2 separate regions of the Homo sapiens genome follow, and region 2 is linked to region 1. The links are contacts of gene promoters, found by promoter capture Hi-C in human tissues and cell types (Jung and others, 2019). All regions are on one chromosome and are shown on one strand. Each heading gives the region's core, a stretch centred on a gene start or on the middle of the fragment in contact. The rest is flanking DNA. Distances are from core to core; before and after follow the strand shown. Region 1 overlaps SCGB2A2 (secretoglobin family 2A member 2). Region 2 holds the start of SCGB1D1 (secretoglobin family 1D member 1).

The links. The method cuts DNA at HindIII sites, captures the fragments that hold promoters and counts their contacts. A contact is called where the count stands out against the background at its distance.
Region 2: the fragment with the promoter of SCGB1D1 here is called in contact with a fragment that was not itself captured in region 1 in 2 of the 25 tissues and cell types used here (liver and neural progenitor cells).

What each region holds. Positions count from the first base shown.
Region 1 is chr11:62,270,606-62,275,524 of GRCh38, reverse strand. It overlaps SCGB2A2 (secretoglobin family 2A member 2), which reads right to left. Exons shown (of 3, transcript NM_002411.4): 2 at 4,457-4,644; 3 at 2,365-2,568. The coding sequence ends at 2,530. Among named protein-coding and RNA genes, the nearest start is that of SCGB2A2, 2.9 kb to the right of the region's middle. The HindIII fragment of the contact is 3,190 bases long and covers 532-3,721 here.
Region 2 is chr11:62,188,212-62,193,130 of GRCh38, reverse strand. SCGB1D1 (secretoglobin family 1D member 1) reads right to left here and starts at 2,915. Exons shown (of 3, transcript NM_006552.2): 1 at 2,792-2,915; 2 at 888-1,075. The coding sequence starts at 2,846. RefSeq lists an enhancer at 361-861. The HindIII fragment of the contact is 12,490 bases long and covers 1,505-4,919 here.

The sequences.
Region 1 (4,919 bases), core at 877-3,376:
CCATGCAAGGCCAGTTTCTGTCCTTGTCCTTGTTCTCTTCTCTTTACTCCTCACAAGAAAAGGAGGACTTCCAAGCCCCAAACCTTCAAAAGCAATGACCATGGTATGTCAAGGAAGGGTGCTTCACTCTCCCTCACTCTCAAAGCCTTCCTCACCTCCAAACCTCCACAAATATTTCCATGTCAGTTACAAACCTCTCCTGCAACTTCTCTGCCCTATCCTCACTTCTCCTCACCTTTCCAGCTGTGTTCAAGAGATTACCCAGTCCTGCTGTATCTGCCTCTCAGTGTCACCCCAAGGTTCTTTCTGGCCACTGCCTTTTCCTACCCACCAAGCCTGAGGCCAGGTACCCGGGCAAGATTGGCCGGTAGACTTCACCCACAAGCCACCTGATAAATTGCTCCACTATCTTCTGGTTTTTGTCTGTACTTTCTCCAGGTAGGTAGGAGCATTCCCAATAACTTCAGAAGGTACAAATATCATCACGCAAATGCTCATCATGCATATAATTGCCCATTTTGGACTCCCAACATCCATCCAGTCTGATAACAGGCCCACTTTCATCAGCCAAATCACCCAAGGTGTCTCTACATCTTTAAAAATAAAGTAAGTTCTCCACACACCCTACAGGCCTCAATCTTCACGCAAAGTTGAAAAAATGAACTCTGTCCTTAAAGCCCAACTCACCAAGCTGCTTCTAGAAACCCCCCAGTCGTGGACAAAAAATCTCCCTTTTACCCTCATGAGACTCCACGCAACACCAAAAGCACCCTCTTTCTATAGTCCCTTTGAAATCATGTATGGCCAAACTTTTGTCTTGGGGCCTCCACCCTTACCAGACTCTGAGCCACTCAGGAATTATTCCCCTTCTTAATCCAGACATGGTCTTTCATTCGTGAAGCAGCAAATGAGGCCATGCCTCTCCCTGTTGACACCTCCTTGTCCTCTCAACATAACTGTTTTGCAGGCACAGACACCTTTCCAGACAATCCAGATGATGCTCCTGCTACAATGACATGGTGGATACCAACCTGTCTCTCAAGAATAGCCCCAAAATTAAGTTTTTCTTTTTCCAAGGTGCCCATGCCACCCCATGTCACACCTGAAGTGGTTATTGAGAAAGTCGTCCTTTTTCCATAACCAAATAGACAGCAATGTAAAATTCTCCCCAGGGCCTGAAAGCTTAAGGAGATGAGCTCCCCACTTCTCAGGCTCAGTCCCAAGGCACAAGGCTACTTGTGCTAGTGGGGTGCACCAGCAAGATAGCAGAAGCAGGAAGAGAGCCGGCCGGAAGACACATACCCCTGAAGACGGAGAAAGAGGCCATCCAGATATAACATAGCAGTTACATCAGACTAGGACACTTCCTGTTTACAGGAGACTATAAAACCTTTGCACCATCCTCACTTAAGGCTGATGCCACTTTAGGCCTCAGCCCTCCTGCTTCCAGGCGCTCATTAAAACAGCATGTTGCTCCACACTGCCTCGTGTTGTCTGTTGGTATGTTCTTGGGGTTCGAGCCGATACAAAAACCTTACAAGGGGATAGCCTCAGAAAGAAGAGGGACAGGCTGAGGTAGAAGCAGAACAGGTGGCAATAACTGCCCCTGGTGACAGGAATGCTGGGGACAGGACATGAAAGAGACTCCAGGTTCCATGTAAACATCCCCTGCTGTGCTGGGTCCCTGCACAGCACACTCACTCCCCTCAACCCTCATTGCCTTTGCAGCTCACTGCGGGACAGCGGAGGATGGACCCCAGTCCCACCACAGGCACAGGACTAGAGGACATTGAAAATCTTAATAGGGGTACTGTTAAACTCAGTAGTCATATTGCATAGGATTCAAATAATAACATAATATGGTTAAAAATAATATTTTCCTGTAGTAGTTTATAAATTAAACTGAAGCCAACATCCATGATGAGTAAAAATTACAAAATTTAAACCCAGTCAGGTGCCACCCTGCTTTGCAGGACTCCTCTCCCTGGCTGGCTCTGGCCCAGGCCCTGCACATCTCGGGGAGGCCCAGAGACAGCGCAGAGAAGCCTGACATGGCCAGCAGGGCTCAGCGTGGATGGGAGGACTGGAGTGAAAGCAGGTCCTCTGAGTGAAACCCTGCCTCACATCCCAGAGCCTGAGGACTCCAGAGAGAGTCGACGGGGGAGGTGGTGGGATGGGGACAGGGAAACACTCTTCAGAGAGAGTACCAAGGCTTAGAGGTCAGACTGAGGAAACAAATGCTTCACAGAGTCCTCAACCCATGACCATGAGTTCTTTAATAAGTAAGTGTGTGTGTGTGTGTATGTAAAATATGTGAGGCCCTCTAACGCCTCTTTTCTACGGTAGAACAAAGAGAAACTTCAGTTTTTGCCATCAATTTATTAAAATAAACATGTATAGCAGGTTTCAACAATTGTCTTGTAGTTTGTAGTAAAAAGACATAAGAAAGAGAAGGTGTGGTTTGCAGCAATCCGTAGTTGGTTTCTCACCATACCCTGCAGTTCTGTGAGCCAAAGGTCTTGCAGAAAGTTAAAATAAATCACAAAGACTGCTGTCATATATTAATTGCTAGAAAGCAAAAACAGAGACATCACTTAGATTTTCTGCACTCTCTAACAAAATAAAATCTTGAAAAACAGAAGCTTATCTTTTTCCACGGTTTGCCCACAACCATCTAGCATCCCAGACGGTTAGGGCTGGAAGTAGAAGAGCTGTTGTTTCTGGATCATTTCCCCCACCATGGACTTTTTAAATATTTTTTCTGTGTGTTTGTGGTTCTTTGAAATAATGTATTCAACAAATACGTGACTATATTACCTATTTTCACAGGATTGTTAAAATCTTAGCTCAAATGCAAAAAAAAAAAAAAAAAAAAAAGTGAAACTTTGAGCTCTCGTCTAACCCTCCATTGTGGAAATATTCCCAGCATCCCAGCAGTCCGACGCCCTCTGCCACCACCATTGTGCTCTACTAATTATTGGAGCTGCAGACTATGATCTGTCTGAGGAAGCTTTTAAAGAAACAAATCCATCACCCTTCCCTGCAGTTGATAATTAGTTTTTAACAAATTATTAATAGTGGTAAAATGTACATCTCATAAAATTTGCCATTTTAAGGGGACAGTTCGGAGTGTTCTGTATATTCGTGTGGTTGTGCAACCTAACTCCAGAATATTACTGTTTTGCACAACTGAAACTCCAGACCCATTAAATATGACTCCCCCTTCTTCTCTGCACCCAAGCCCTGACAACCACTGTTTTTTTTTTTTTCACTGTCTCTGAGTCTGGCTCCCCAGATTCCCATATGCATGGGTCATGCAGCATTTGTGTTTTTGTGACTCTTTGCTTCACTCTTCACTCGCTATAATATCCTCAAGGTTCATCCATGTTGTAGAAAGCGTCAGGGTTTCCTGAGGTGATGTTCACTTTCATCCTAATGGAGGGGTTTGGTATATTTCTAACTTTTTTTTTTTTTTTTTTTTTACCAGGGAAGGATTAAAGAAGAATTTAACATAGGGAATAAATGCTAAAGAAAACCCTCAACAATATACATGTATAGTTAGAAAGAAATACAAAACTATTGGTTTTTGTTTGAGGCAATTCTTCCTCCATGGTGGTTTCATACCCATGATCTACAGTTGCCTATTGGATAGTCCAAGGTTTCTCATCATTTATGCTAGCAAATTATGATTGCCTGGAAGTGCATTTTAAATTCTTTTTATTTGAGATGTATAGAATCTTGCTCAAATGGTATTTTCCAAACTGTTGAAAAATAGGGCATTTTTTAAGAAAGAACACTTTTACTTTTTTTTGAAGAAGAGAAGTTTTCTCTGCAGATTGGTCTATAGGTGCGGGTCTTCTGGAAAATTGTTTTTTCTGTAGAGAGTGAACATATGTTTGTATGTGTGTGTCTGAGTGTGTTTGTGTGTGTCTCTGTGTTTCTGTGGTTGTGTGGTTCTGTCTGTGTGTTTGTGTTTGTGTCTGGATGATTGTGTGCTGGTGTGATTGTGTCTGTGTCTGTGTCTGTGTCTTTGCCTGTCTGTCTATGTTTGTGTATGTCTGAATGTGTGTGTGTTTGTGTGATTGTGACTGTGTCTGTGTGTTTGCATGTGTCTGGATGTGTGTATGTGTGTTTCTGTGTTTGTGTGATTGTGTCTGTGTTTGTGAGCATGAATTAGAGAGCTCTGGGGATAGGTAAGACTTCTACCGACCTTTCCTTTTCCTCTCTTGCCCTATTCATTTATCATCCACTGAGGATTCTCTGGGTAGAGTGACAACACAGGGACACTGGATGTTTTTCTTGATGGCAAAGTCATTAGACTAACCATTCAACTAAATTAACCAATGTAAGAAAAGGCTTGTTCACTAGTGGCTTTGGCATTGTCAGTGAGAAATGAAGAGCCCACTTGTCCCTGGTCAGGGGATTTAAAAAGCTTATAGGAAGAAAATGAAATTACCATAAACACCTCAACATTGCTCAGAGTTTCATCCGTTTGGTTAAGAAAACATTCCTTCAATTCATCTATGGCATTTGTAGTGGCATTGTCGTCTATGAACTCTTGAAGAAGTTCTTTGTATTCAGTCTTAGACACTTGTGGATTGATTGTCTTGGAAATCACATTCTCCAATAAGGGGCAGCCAGAGCCTGGGAAGGATGCACAAGGAAACAAGCTTGGTACAGAAGGCATGAAAGGCTTGGGGCAGACCTATTACATTCCTCATCTTCTTACAGCCCAAGAGAATATAGACTCAAAGATAATGATGCAGAATCTAGAGTTCTCAAATCTGGGAGAAAACCTCAGGCTCTGGGATTTCCTGTAAGCCCTGCAACTTCTTTCTCTCCACTCCCCAGCCCAGAAAAGCTAAACCTCATGAAACTTCATTTAATGAGAAGACTTGAGAAATGAAACACTCGGACTT
Region 2 (4,919 bases), core at 1,666-4,165, 83 kb after region 1:
GTCCCAGGACTTGGAGTCTCCTGTTCCCCGCAATGAAAGACCCAGTGCTGAGAGGTTGGTCAGGGCTGGGAGGGCCTCTGGGAAGCTTGGCTTCCAGGAGACTCCAGCCTCCCCATGTGGGAATTCTGCCTCAGGGCCTGAGCACCTCAATCCTGAGCCTGCAGCTTCCATGAGCATTTGCAGCTAAACCTCAGGACAGCAACCCAGAGGCAGCCAGGCTGAGAGGCCCCTGGAAAACCTCTGATTTCTTGAGAAAGACAGAGTGAGAACATCCCGCTTCCATGGCACTGCAGGAGGTAGAGTAGCGAGGGTCTTGGCCCACTGGCCGTGGTCAGGAGAGCATCGTGGGTGAGGAGGGGAGCGTGGAGTCTGAGGAGCTGGGAGGGGCTCCTTCCTGGTTCTGCAGAAGCTGCAGAGAAGTCCAGCCCTCCAGCGCAGCATCTGCAGGAGCCCCTGCTCTAGGTCCCTCCCTGCCTTCTTCTCCCTGTTCAAGGCTCCCACACTCCCCAGTACATTCCACAGTGACTGTGTGAGGTCCACTTGGCCTCAGGAAAGTCCCCAGGTGGAGAGACAGTTGTGCTTGGCCCTTCACCACCCCTGCCTGGACCCAGGCTCACTCCCCATGTCCTCAGCACACTCTGGGGACACGGCATCCAGGTAGGTGACCTGAGAAGGAGGAACATGCAGGAGGCTGTGTGCAGCTGAGTTGAATTCTGCAGGTGAAATGGTAGCACCCACCCTGTGGTCCCAGGTGACCTTCTCAAGCGGTGACCAGTAAGGCAGGTGCCCCACCACCTGTGTCCCTCACAGAGCAGCAAGCAAGCTGACCTCACTTCACACTGTGCCGCTGACCAGAAGCCTGGACACATGAAAGAGACAGAAATTACCAATGTTTTTGTAATTAGCACTCTTTTCTCATAGGCCATCGTATCCACGCATTTCTTCACTTCCATCTTGGCTGCAACAGCTTCCAGAGGTGCCTTAAATTTGGCAAGTTGGAACTTGAACACAGGTTTTCCAGCTAATAAGAAGCCTGTGATTTCAGAACCAAGAGCTTGGCAGACCACTGCATTTGCTGGAGCAAAAGAATAAAAATATAATTTGTGTAAGGAAATCAGTGTTTCTCCCATGCCTCCCTGATGTCAGACCAGACAGGAACCCCAGGGTTTTAGGCTTCTATTCAATAACTATGCCAATGACAATGTCAGACCCAGGAGGTTGTGACTTCCTTGAGGTCACACAGCAAAGGGTAGAGCTAGAACTGGAGAACCAACTTCCTGATCACTCATTCAGTCTTTGTTTTTTTTTTAAAGCACACTCATTACTTTCCAAAGCTTCTCTGGATGGATGGCCAACGTTCTCTTTTCTAGATTTGAAAATAATCACTTTTCTATGCCAGTTAAGTGACACTTTATTAGTCTTGGACATTGGTGAAGAGGAGGCTTTGAGTAATCAAATTTTGAAGTGGAATGGTAGAGTCAGAATCCTATCAGAAATTAGAGAAATGAGTAAATCTGGAACAGAAGAAGTTAAAATTATTGAAATGTTGAAGGTGATGTTTTGAGAACAAGTTGTAGAATTTAGGCTTATGTGATTCAATACAGACAGAGCTAAAAGGTAAACAAATTAAAACAAAATAAAATAATGTGAATCAGTTTTAACACACATTAGAAGCTTATACAGGAAATTGTACTTGGCCCATATTCTGCAGCAGCATCTAGAATATTTGGAGAGGATGAGAGGAGGGAACTGAGGCTCATTCCTGCTCCCACTGGGAATTTTGGAAAGACCTGGAGTAATCATTTTGCTTGGTCTGGAATCTCCATTCACCTAAGTCTTTTGCAAACACCATGCATCCAGAAAGCGCCCCACCATGCTCAACATGACCCCTGACTACCCGACTTCAAACTGTGGGGAGAATTTGGAGAGGGTAGGATCGGGGTGTCACAGGGAAACAGGGAGAGGTTCAGAAAAGAAGAGGAAAGAGAAAAATCAGAGTCTGGATCGGTCCTGACAGGGGAAAGGAAAGTACCCAAATGAACTGGGGAAAAATCAGCCAGAATTAATTTTAGAAAAATAGAAGTTCTGAGGCTAACCATTGTAGTATTTCTACCACCATTACGGTAGGACCCCTAGAAGATATATTGAGTGCTGCTTATTCTAAGAATTCATTTGCAGGCTTCTTATTGAGAGAATCAGAAAGCACCATCTCTTCTTGGACTGAGAGTTCTCCAAGGATCCTTCGAGATGTAACATTTTATGAGTCTGAATTTACAATGTAAGAAGCTGTGAGCTCAATTGGCACCTAAAGGTCTGGGGACGAGAATGTCTGACAGTACAGTGATTGGCTTCACATCCACAGCTAGACCCTTGGCACAATAATCCCACTCCATTCCCATTGCCACTCCCGGAAGAAGCTCTAAGCACCAGAGATAGGAGGAGGCGCGGGGAGGGTGAGCATCTTGCCCACGGTGAAAGGGCTGAGAAGTGGCTGAGCCCAGAGTCACCCCAGACCTCACATTACATCATCTGACACAGATCCCATCCAAGAGTGAAGCTCAGGCAGAATTCCTAACGTTCGCCTGCATTGATTTTCTGCAAAACTTCCTAGGTACTGGGGATTTGATGAAATGAGGCCCGAGCTTTATGAGCAGTTCCTTCAACAAGCACAGGATAAGGTTTGGAATTTTGGTTTGTTCCAGACCCCAACCTTAACCTTAATAGGTGACCTCGTGCTCAGAGAAGGGTGTGTCCCAAGGGCTGGTGCTGGACTCATGACTGATGTACTCACCCCGGTAGCAGCAAAGGGCCAGCGTGAGCAGCAGGAGACACACCGACAGCCTCATGGTGGCTTATTCTGCTGTGAGCTCGGCTTTAACCAATGATGAGTGATTTAGACTCAGCCCCGGGAGCCTGTGGAGCCGTGGAGCCCAGGGCTATTTGTACCTAGGGAGCCTGGCTGGTCCTGCCCACATGGGCATCTGGCAGGTGATGAGGCCTGGCTTCCAGCCCTCCCTTCCTAGCCAGGGCTGCTGCCATCCATCAGTGTCACATCCCCACACCTCCCTGCATCCTGAGTGGGGCGGAGCACGGGAGGGCAGCCCTGCAGAAACTCTGCTCTGTGCTCCAGGTGAGTGTCCAGGTGCCTCTGGCAATGTTCCCTGGAACCTCAGTTTGCTTTTGGGCTTTTGAGGATTATCTCTCTGTTCTTTATGTCAGTGCAAGGGCAAATGTGAGTTCTCATTTCAGGAGGACAGAAACCGGGGGTGCAGGAAGCTAGGGGCTGTGGTTTGGTTATAGGAGAGCAGGCACAGAAGAGACCCCACTTTGACCTCCACTGCATGTCTGACAATCAGCCACACGTGTTTCAGCTGCACATAGATCAAGTCTGAACCAGACCTATCCTCCCACTCAGCCCCTTCCATCCCCACCATCTTCACCACATAGGTACCTAAAACATAGCTGCATACACCCCACCTTTGGAGGATTTCCTTGGGGAAAACAACCACTCCCCCTGTCCTCTACTCTGTCTCACTCCAAGATCTGTGTCTTTATTTATGGGTGGAGTTGTCAACATAGCACAGGTTCAAATTTTCTGTCTACTAAAAGCAAGCCTCCAGTGACCTCTAGCCACCCATATCTCCTCATAGGGCTGATGGGATGATTAAATTGCCCAACTTTTTTTACCCAAGGAGCTGCTGGGGTGTCTGGAGGCAAACAGGCATCAGAAATACTGGTCTTCGCTTCTAGGCAGGGACGATAATGGAAAGGAAGAGATGGATGAACAGGGTGGGTGGTCACTTCCCTCTAACCTCTGGGCTCAAGTTTTCCACTTCTAACCCAGCTCTGCTGCCTGGGTCATCTCATTGTTGATGGAAAGCGAAGGCCATCCCCAGCAAAAGCAATAGACACCCTTCTGCCCTTCCACTGCAGTGCCATCATTTGGTGAGTAGGAAATCACCAGAAATTTGGCTCTTAAGTGAACACACATTTGAGAACAGTCACAGCCCAGGCCAGAGCTTTCCATTCTCTGCTCTGCAATCAAATCACTTGGGGCTCTTAAACTATACTGACTCCCCGCAGGCTGCTTCCCTTTCTGGGGATTTTGATTCAGTAGTTCTAGGGCGAGGTCCTCTTCTGTTTAAACTGCTCTGGTGGGTCTGATGGGCAGCAGTACTGAGAACCACCCAGAAAGACCTTTATGAAGGAAGCGGACCTTATGGTCTGTGTCATCAGAGACACCTTGGCAGGTCTGGCTGAGTCCCAGCTGAGGGCGACAATGCCTCTCACTTCCATCACCCAAAATGGTGGGGAAGCCCCTGATGCCACCTCTGCCTCCAACCCTAAGGAGTGGAAGGTCCAGTGGCAAAGCCCATGGCTAGGAGGGTTCAGATCCATGTCTATGGGCTATTGAACCCTCTGAAAATTAGTTTATGTAAACACAGTTTTCTCGTTTGTAAAAGTAGGTTAAAAATGGTGCCTACATCATTGGGTTGATAGATGTTCAAATGAGTGTGTGTGTGTGTGTGTGTGTGTAAAATTTACCAGGTCTGGCCAGGCGCAGTGGCTCACACTTATAATCCCAGCACTTTGGGAGGCCGAGGCGGGTGGATCACCTGAGGTCAGGAGGTTGAGACCAGTCTGGCCAACATGGTGAAACCCCGTCTCTACTAAAAATACAAAAAATTAGCTGGGTGTGGTGGCATGTGCCTATAGTCCCAGCTACTCAGGAGACTGAGGCAGGAGAATCTCTTGAACAAGGGAGGCAGAGTTGTGGTGAGCTGAGATGGCACCACTGCACTCCAGCCTGGGCAACAAGAGCAAAACTCCATCTCAAAAAAGAAAAAAAAATTAACAAGGTCTGACATGTAGTAAACGCTCAATAAATGTTGACTACTATTACCTTGTCCCACCTGTCA